Regions from separate parts of the Homo sapiens genome. Here region 2 is linked to region 1. The links are contacts of gene promoters, found by promoter capture Hi-C in blood cells and fetal thymus (Javierre and others, 2016). All regions are on one chromosome and are shown on one strand. Each heading gives the region's core, a stretch centred on a gene start or on the middle of the fragment in contact. The rest is flanking DNA. Distances are from core to core; before and after follow the strand shown. Region 1 holds the start of TRADD (TNFRSF1A associated via death domain). Region 2 holds the start of LOC107984821 (a long non-coding RNA gene).

The links. Contacts are between HindIII fragments. The CHiCAGO score rates a contact against its expected background, and 5 or more counts as called.
Region 2: a fragment that was not itself captured here is called in contact with the fragment with the promoter of TRADD in region 1 in 3 of 17 cell types (M1 macrophages, erythroblasts and M0 macrophages); the score reaches 5.8 in M1 macrophages.

The regions. Positions count from the first base shown.
Region 1 is chr16:67,158,488-67,161,749 of GRCh38, forward strand. TRADD (TNFRSF1A associated via death domain) reads right to left here and starts at 1,422. Exons shown (of 5, transcript NM_003789.4): 1 at 1,351-1,422. It overlaps FBXL8 (F-box and leucine rich repeat protein 8), which reads left to right and starts at 1,470. Exons shown (of 3, transcript NM_018378.3): 1 at 1,470-1,569; 2 at 3,248-3,262. RefSeq lists an enhancer at 591-850 and silencers at 1,451-1,590, 2,611-2,700. The HindIII fragment of the contact is 14,896 bases long and covers 1-3,262 here.
Region 2 is chr16:66,902,690-66,906,146 of GRCh38, forward strand. LOC107984821 (a long non-coding RNA gene) reads right to left here and starts at 2,571. Exons shown (of 3, transcript XR_001752244.2): 1 at 2,402-2,571. RefSeq lists an enhancer at 484-2,968. The HindIII fragment of the contact is 9,071 bases long and covers 1-3,457 here.

The DNA.
Region 1 (3,262 bases), core at 172-2,671:
TTAATACTTGTGTACTTACGCCAAACCACAGTCTGGATAGTAACAGGAAGTTTGCATTTTGTTTATCTCTGGGCAGGATGAAGGAAGGTAGGTGGGGGTGGGGAAGGATTGTGGGTGATTTTTATTTTCTTTGTATTTAGCAATATTTTCTGCTTTATGTGAAGTAGACATATTTTCTTTGTATTAAAAGAGCAAAATAAATTTGTTTTCTTTAAAAGCAAAACAAGAAAAAACAGGAAACTCTGCAGGTGACAAGTGGGTCCATAATAGGGAGCCAGCCACGGAGGTGAGATAAGGGGGGAGTCCTTCGAAAGTGGCCTGGGGAGTAGGAGAGAGTGGGAACTTCCCCTGGAAACATTCCCTCTTTCATGTCTTTCTGGCCCCTTGACTTGAGAGTGCTTGACTTGGTTATGGTCCCACCCCAAGGGGTGGAAGTGGGGACCGAACAGGACCATTGTCTGCCCATCAGGTCTGTGGGGGTCGAGGGGGAGGTGGGGAGTACTGGGAACCTGGAGACTGGGGATGCTTTCTCACACTCACTAGTACTAGAAGATGGGGAAGGTGAACCAGGCTGGAGGTCGAGTTAACAGGGTAAAGAGGCCAGGGCCCTAGTTTCGCATCCGCCGACTGGCAGCTCTTCTTACGTGTTCTTTCACGGAAGCCCCTCCTTGGGAAGCCCCGCGCCCCACCCACCAGGAGTCGTCCCTTTTTGGGCGGGGCTGAGGCTTCCAGGCTGGGTCCTGAGAAAGTTTGGTGGCCGGAGACTGTGGGGCGCTTAGGTACCGACCTAACAACTTCTGCGCCTGTTTCCAGGGACGAGCCACGCACGGTGCCCCCTGAACACCTAACAGTCCCGGGGGCAGCCCCACCTCTGGCTGGGTGGACAGAGACAGCCTGTGGGCGTGGCCCAGAACTGAAAGCCTGTGACTCCTTGCGACCCGCCGGGCACACCCCCTACTCAGCTACGCAGCTCCCGAGCGCTTGAGGGGAGCTTCCCAGGCTCCCACTAGCCCACCCTCAAGCTGGGGTTTCGCACGTGCGATCGGCTGGGGTGGGCAAGGGGGTCTCCGCTCAAGGAAAGTATTCAGAACCAGCCCCTTCTCCCCCACCCTCTCTCCTGCAGGGCCCTACTGCACCTCGAAAGTGCTGGCAGGGACGAGGAGCCTGCGGGGGCCAAATTCCGTACCGTCCCCCGCCTCCCACGGTGTTCGAACAGCTCAGTAGACCGCCGCCACCAGCTGGCTGGAGCAGCCGCCGGTGACATCTGCGCCGCGCCCACGCTTCGGAGCCAAGATCCACCTCCTCTCCCGCCCGCACCGGGGAGCCCACCCACCCACCTGCTGCACTAACCTGGCCGCCTCGGCGGGGCCTGGGTTCCCACGCCCGCCAGGCTCCGCTCTACTCCGCCGCTTCCGGGTGTGCGCGGAGGCGCTGGGGCGGTGCCCTAGCCCGAGCCGCCCCGTCCGCCCGCGCGTCCCGCCCCGCGGGCTCCCGGTGGCTGCTTCCCGTCCGCTGTCCTCTGCTGCCAGTCCCCTGCCCCGGGCAAAGCCCATCTGGTCCGCCGAGCAGGTAAGACACCAGCGCCCAAGGTTAGACGGCAGGAAGACCCGACTTTGGGGGTTTGCGATTCTTACGAGGCGGGGGGCTCGTAAGAGCTACAGCTGCCAGACTTCGGTAAATCAAGGGGGCGCCCCCTGGAGACCAGAATTTTCTGGTACCCCTGGGGATCCGGCTTCAAGATCGCTGCTACCAGTGGGCACTCAAAACGGGGTGCCCATGGGTCCCAGGTACAAGCCCGGCCGAACGTATCTGAAGCCCCAGGAAACACGTGGCACAAATTCCGGGAGAAACTGTTAGCCCGGAAGATATGGGAACATTAACTGGCGAGTAGTGTGAAGCCTTGTGTACACAAACCTTTAAGAACCTTAAAACAAGATTGGCGGCCGGGCGCGGTGGCTCACGCCTGTAATCCCAGCACTTTGGAAGGCCGAGGCAGGTGGATCACCTGAGGTCAGGAGTTTGAGACCAGCCTGGCCAATATGGTGAAACCCCGTCTCTACTAAAAATACAAAAATTAGCCCGGCGAGGTGGCGCGCGCCTGGAGTCCCAGCTACTCGGGAGGCTGAGGCAGAAGAATCGCTTGAACCCGCGAGGCGGAGTTTGCAGTGAGCCGAGATCTCGCCACTGCACTCCAGCCTGGGCGACACAGCTAGATTCCGTCTCAAAACAAAACAAAACAAAAACAAACAGGATTGGCAACTTCAAAGAGGACGCACACTTTCCAGTAACCCATCCCCCTCTAAAGGCTGCGCTCCAGGGTGGGTCTGCGGAGTTCCAGCCGAACCCAAATTGCTCAGCGGGAGCCAGGGCTGCTCAGGGGTCGGAACTTAAATCTTGAGCCCCTCAGGCCCCAGAACCGTCAGGTCCCAGAGACCCAAGTTTTTTTTCATCCAGTGGGGCTGTCTTAGGAAGCACCCGGGACATCTCCCCGGCGAGGCGGAGGCGGGGAAGGAGCCTCCCCTCCAGGGGTGGATCCAGCTTTGCCCCGCCCACGCCTCGCTTCCTGATTGGCTCATGGTCCCTGACAAAGAAAAGCCTACATTAACGCTCCCGCCTTATTAACCCTGTAGTCACTTTCTACTAACCGGCGGGGTTAAGATGGGGTTTCTCAGGCCGGGCGCGGTGGCTCATGCCCGTAATCCCAGCACTTTGGGAGGCCCAGGCGGGCCGATCGCTTGAGCCTAGGAGTTCGAGGTCAGTCTGGGCAACAAAGCGAGACCTCGTCTCTGCAACAAAATTACAAAAATTAGCCAGGCGTGGTGGCGTGCCCCTGTAGTCCCAGCTACTCGGGAGGCTGAGGTGGGAGGATTGCTTGAGCCCGGGAGACTGAGGGTGCAGTGAGTTGTGATTGCGCCACTGCACTCCAGCCTGGGTAAAGAGCGAGACCCTGTCTCAAAAAAAAAGAAAAAAAAAAAAAAAAGTGGGAGGGGAGTTCTCAACGTGGAACCTGTGGAGTCACAGGGGCTTGTTGAAATGCAGATTCCTGGGCCTTACCCTTTCCGGAGAGCCTGATTTAGTAGGTGAGGCGGTGAAATCTGCTTTGTGAACAAGTTTCGGGGTTATCTGATGCCCCACGCTGTCTGAGAGGCCCTCAGTTCCTCAGGCCACAAGCATTTGTACACCTAAGCTCGGTCTTCCTGCAACACTTTGCGCCTTCCCGACCTCAGAGACGTCCGTCTCTCTCCAGGCCGGAGCTATTGGG
Region 2 (3,457 bases), core at 176-2,675, 260 kb before region 1:
TGACAATAATAACAGAAGCTGTTCCATTTTTTGAGAGCCAATTATGTGCCAGCCTCTGTGCTAAGTAAGGGCTTTGCTTGTATTATCTCAGTTAATCCCCACAGCATGCTCTTCTCTGGGTGGGGGTGGGTGGGCAGTGGCCTGTGGGGTGTGCTCTGTAAATGTGGTTGTTTTCTGCCAGGTCTGCAGCTTCCGCAGAGGTAGACAGAGGAGCCCTTAGGCCCCATCTATAGGAGATGTCGTGCTCTCCTTGCCAGCAATGCAGGGTGTGAGATGGGATGGCCAGCCCCCTTGGGGATGCCTTCGGGGAGCCAGCCAGGCCCACTGAGCTAACCTCAGCCCCCACTTGGCCCTACTCCTCTAGGCGTTGGGGCTCAAAATAGCAGCTGCTCGAGAGCTGACAATCAAAGGCCAGCTAAAAAAAGGCCCCTCAGTCTGGGCTCTGTCGCACACGGCTCGTAGAGCCTATTTTAGGGGAGAGGGTGCCGACATGCCAGTGGAAAATCCATAGGGCGGGAGTCTCCCAAAGTGGGAGACCCATATGCCTCCCTCTCCCCACTCTGGCCCCCCCACCCAAGTGCTCACGTGCACACACACTCACATTTTGCAGCCGTCAGCCTGCTTCCTGACCACTGGACCCTGTCATCTCCACCACAGCCCAGGAGAGGGATGAGGAAATTGAGGCTCAGAGATGGGAATTGACTTGCCCAAGATCACGAGGCTGGGAAGTAGGCAGGACAGCCACCAGATGGGGCCACTGTGGCTCACAGTTCAGTGCTCTCCCGTGGAAGAAGCCACATCACTGAGGAAGCCAATACATTGTTCTCTGGAGTGCCCAAAGCTCAGAGATGGGGCCAACGGTGGGGTGTTCTGGGTTGGACTGAGGGTGAGTAGGAGCTGAGGGTGACCTGTGGTCTTAGTCTCCGCATGGGAAGAAATCTCACTAGAACCCCCCAGGCCAATTCTGAGGGGACCTTGCCTGGCTGTGGGAGAGGCAGCTGGAGCGGGTCCTCATCGGCACTGAGCCCAGCCCAGCCCCCTCATCCTATCCCTGTGACCACCTCACGCCCTGCCCCGCCCAGGCCCCCAGAGGCTGGCAGGCCCTGCCAAGTTTCCAGGGAATGTGTCAGATAAAGGGCTGGTGCTCATGACTCTCTCCCACGTAGCAGCTATCTCTGACCCTACTGCCACTACCACTGCCACCGCCACTGGGAGGTGGATAAGAATAGCAACAGCCCCAGTGAGTGGGCACCCACAGGGACACAAACCATGTCTTTAGGTGTCCAGCCTCAGCCTCAGACTGAGGATGAGTCTCCAGGTTCCCCTTTCCATCAGTTCCAGCCCCACCTAGCTCCCCCATCATCCTGGGCCCAAAATCCTACCACATCTTAGGGTAAAACTCCAAGCCTCATCCCTTGTGGCTGCTGCCTCAGCAGGGGGAATCTGGAGGGGATGCCATCGCCACATTGATCCTGAGCTGGGGCCTGAGCCCTGCCCTTCACTGGGGAGCTGTATGACATGGAGCTGGACATTGTCCCTCTCAGGGCCCACAAGCAGGGCAAGGTGGCACAGCAGCCCCTGGAGAATGAGATAGCCAGCCGAGGCCTCTCCAGGGGCTGGGTACCCCGTTGTCCTGGTGACCACAGTCTAGTCTGGCTTCTGAGTGCCCCTGTGAATTCTGGCTTTCTGGTCAGTGGGGATGTGAAGACAGTGAGGGTCCTCATGTCTCACAGATAGGGGTCACTGGGATACGACCACTGGGTGGTGTTGGGGGGGCCCTGCATGAGTCCTGTGACACTCCTGTGAGGGTGTGAGGGTAGCTGCGTGACTACAAGGTAAGAGGCTGTTGTCATGGAACCCATGGTGAGCGTAGTTGTGACACCGGAATCGGGAGATCCAGGGAGCCTCATCTCCAACTGTGACACATGGGGGTGATGGAGGGAGCCGAGTCCCAGTCCCCACATCAGTGACTCCTGCAGCTCTCACAGCCTGACTCATTGCATGGCCCCGGACCTGGTACCCCCAGCCTCCTCGCCCCCGGCTCTGGCGCCTTTCTCTCCTCGCGTCCTCCCTGTTCTCAGGCGACTCTTCCTCTTTTGTACCCCCCCCATGTCACCCACCTACCAAAGGGGTCCCAGGGAGGAGGTCAGGGATGCTAGGGAAGAACGAGGAAGGGTGGGCCGAGGCAAGCTCCTCGCACACTCACACATTCCGATGCGTGCATCACACAGACCAGACTGCAGCATATACTTATACACCCACAGACACACGTGTGCACACACGCCTGGTAGAGTGACTGGGCCACTAAGAAGCCTCCCAAGCTCAGTCTTCCAACATCAGCCCTGTCTGGTAGGCCCCCACCACCCCTTAAGTCAGGGTCCCATGCCGCTGAGGCCCTCACATTAGAAACGCATCCTCCCGCCGCAGCAGTGTGTCTGGAGGTGACACCCTAGGAAGAACTTCTGCCCCGAGGCCCCAGCTAGAGTCCTGGGTGGGTGTAGGTAGATGTGGGTGGGGTGGGGTCTCTGAGGGCCCGAGACTGTTGCTTTCTTTGTGGGTGAGGGCCAGACTGACCTCTGGGCCTCCGGCTTCAAGAGCCCTAATCGCTGGGGCTGGAAAAAGTTTAAAAATATCCTCATGTTTACATTCTTTCCAAGCTGCCTCCTGATCCTCCGTGCTGGGTCCCTTTGATCTGGCCCAGTGCCTCTGGAAGGGGCCTGGGAGAAGGGGAGCATGAGGCCTCTGCTGGGGCCCACCCCTCAACCCCCTCCAGCTCCAGCCCAGAACCCTGTGAGACCCTGGACATCACAGACCCTAAGAGCACCTGGGCACTGGAAGGGAGCTGGGGCTGGAAGGGGTGTCTTGCACTCTTGCTTTGGGGCTGGAGCTGGGGCCCCTCTCCAAACTCCCTCCCAAAAGCCTGGGCCTCTTGGGACCTCTAGGGAGTGTGTGTAAGTGCGGGGATGTAGGTCCCTCAACAATCCATGCACTGGGGAAAGTCACATTTACTGAGCCCTGCAGTGCCTGGCACTGTGCTAAATGCATTGTGCAGGGATTATCTCATGTAGTTTTCCTAACGACAAAAACTTGTATCACCAAGTAAGCCAAGGCTCTGAGAGGTGAAGCAGTTTTCCTGGGAACACATCGCATGGATAAGCACAACACATGCTCTTCTACCCATAGAGCTATTGGTTGGCCCCCACCTTGCTCTAGCAGGGGCGAGGCCCTGCCTACAGAATGAAGCCTGCCTCACTAGCATTAATCTCTACAGGCATTCACTGGCCCACTGCCAAGCCTAGAGACCAATCAGCTTTGTGTCTCTCTTCCTCTGCGACCCAGGATAAGCCACACCCCCTCTCTGATCCTCACCTTTCTCTCTTTCTGTTTATGTAGAGACAGAGTTTCACTTTGTTGCCTAGGCTGGCCTTGAACTCCTGGCTTCAAGCAATCCTCTCAC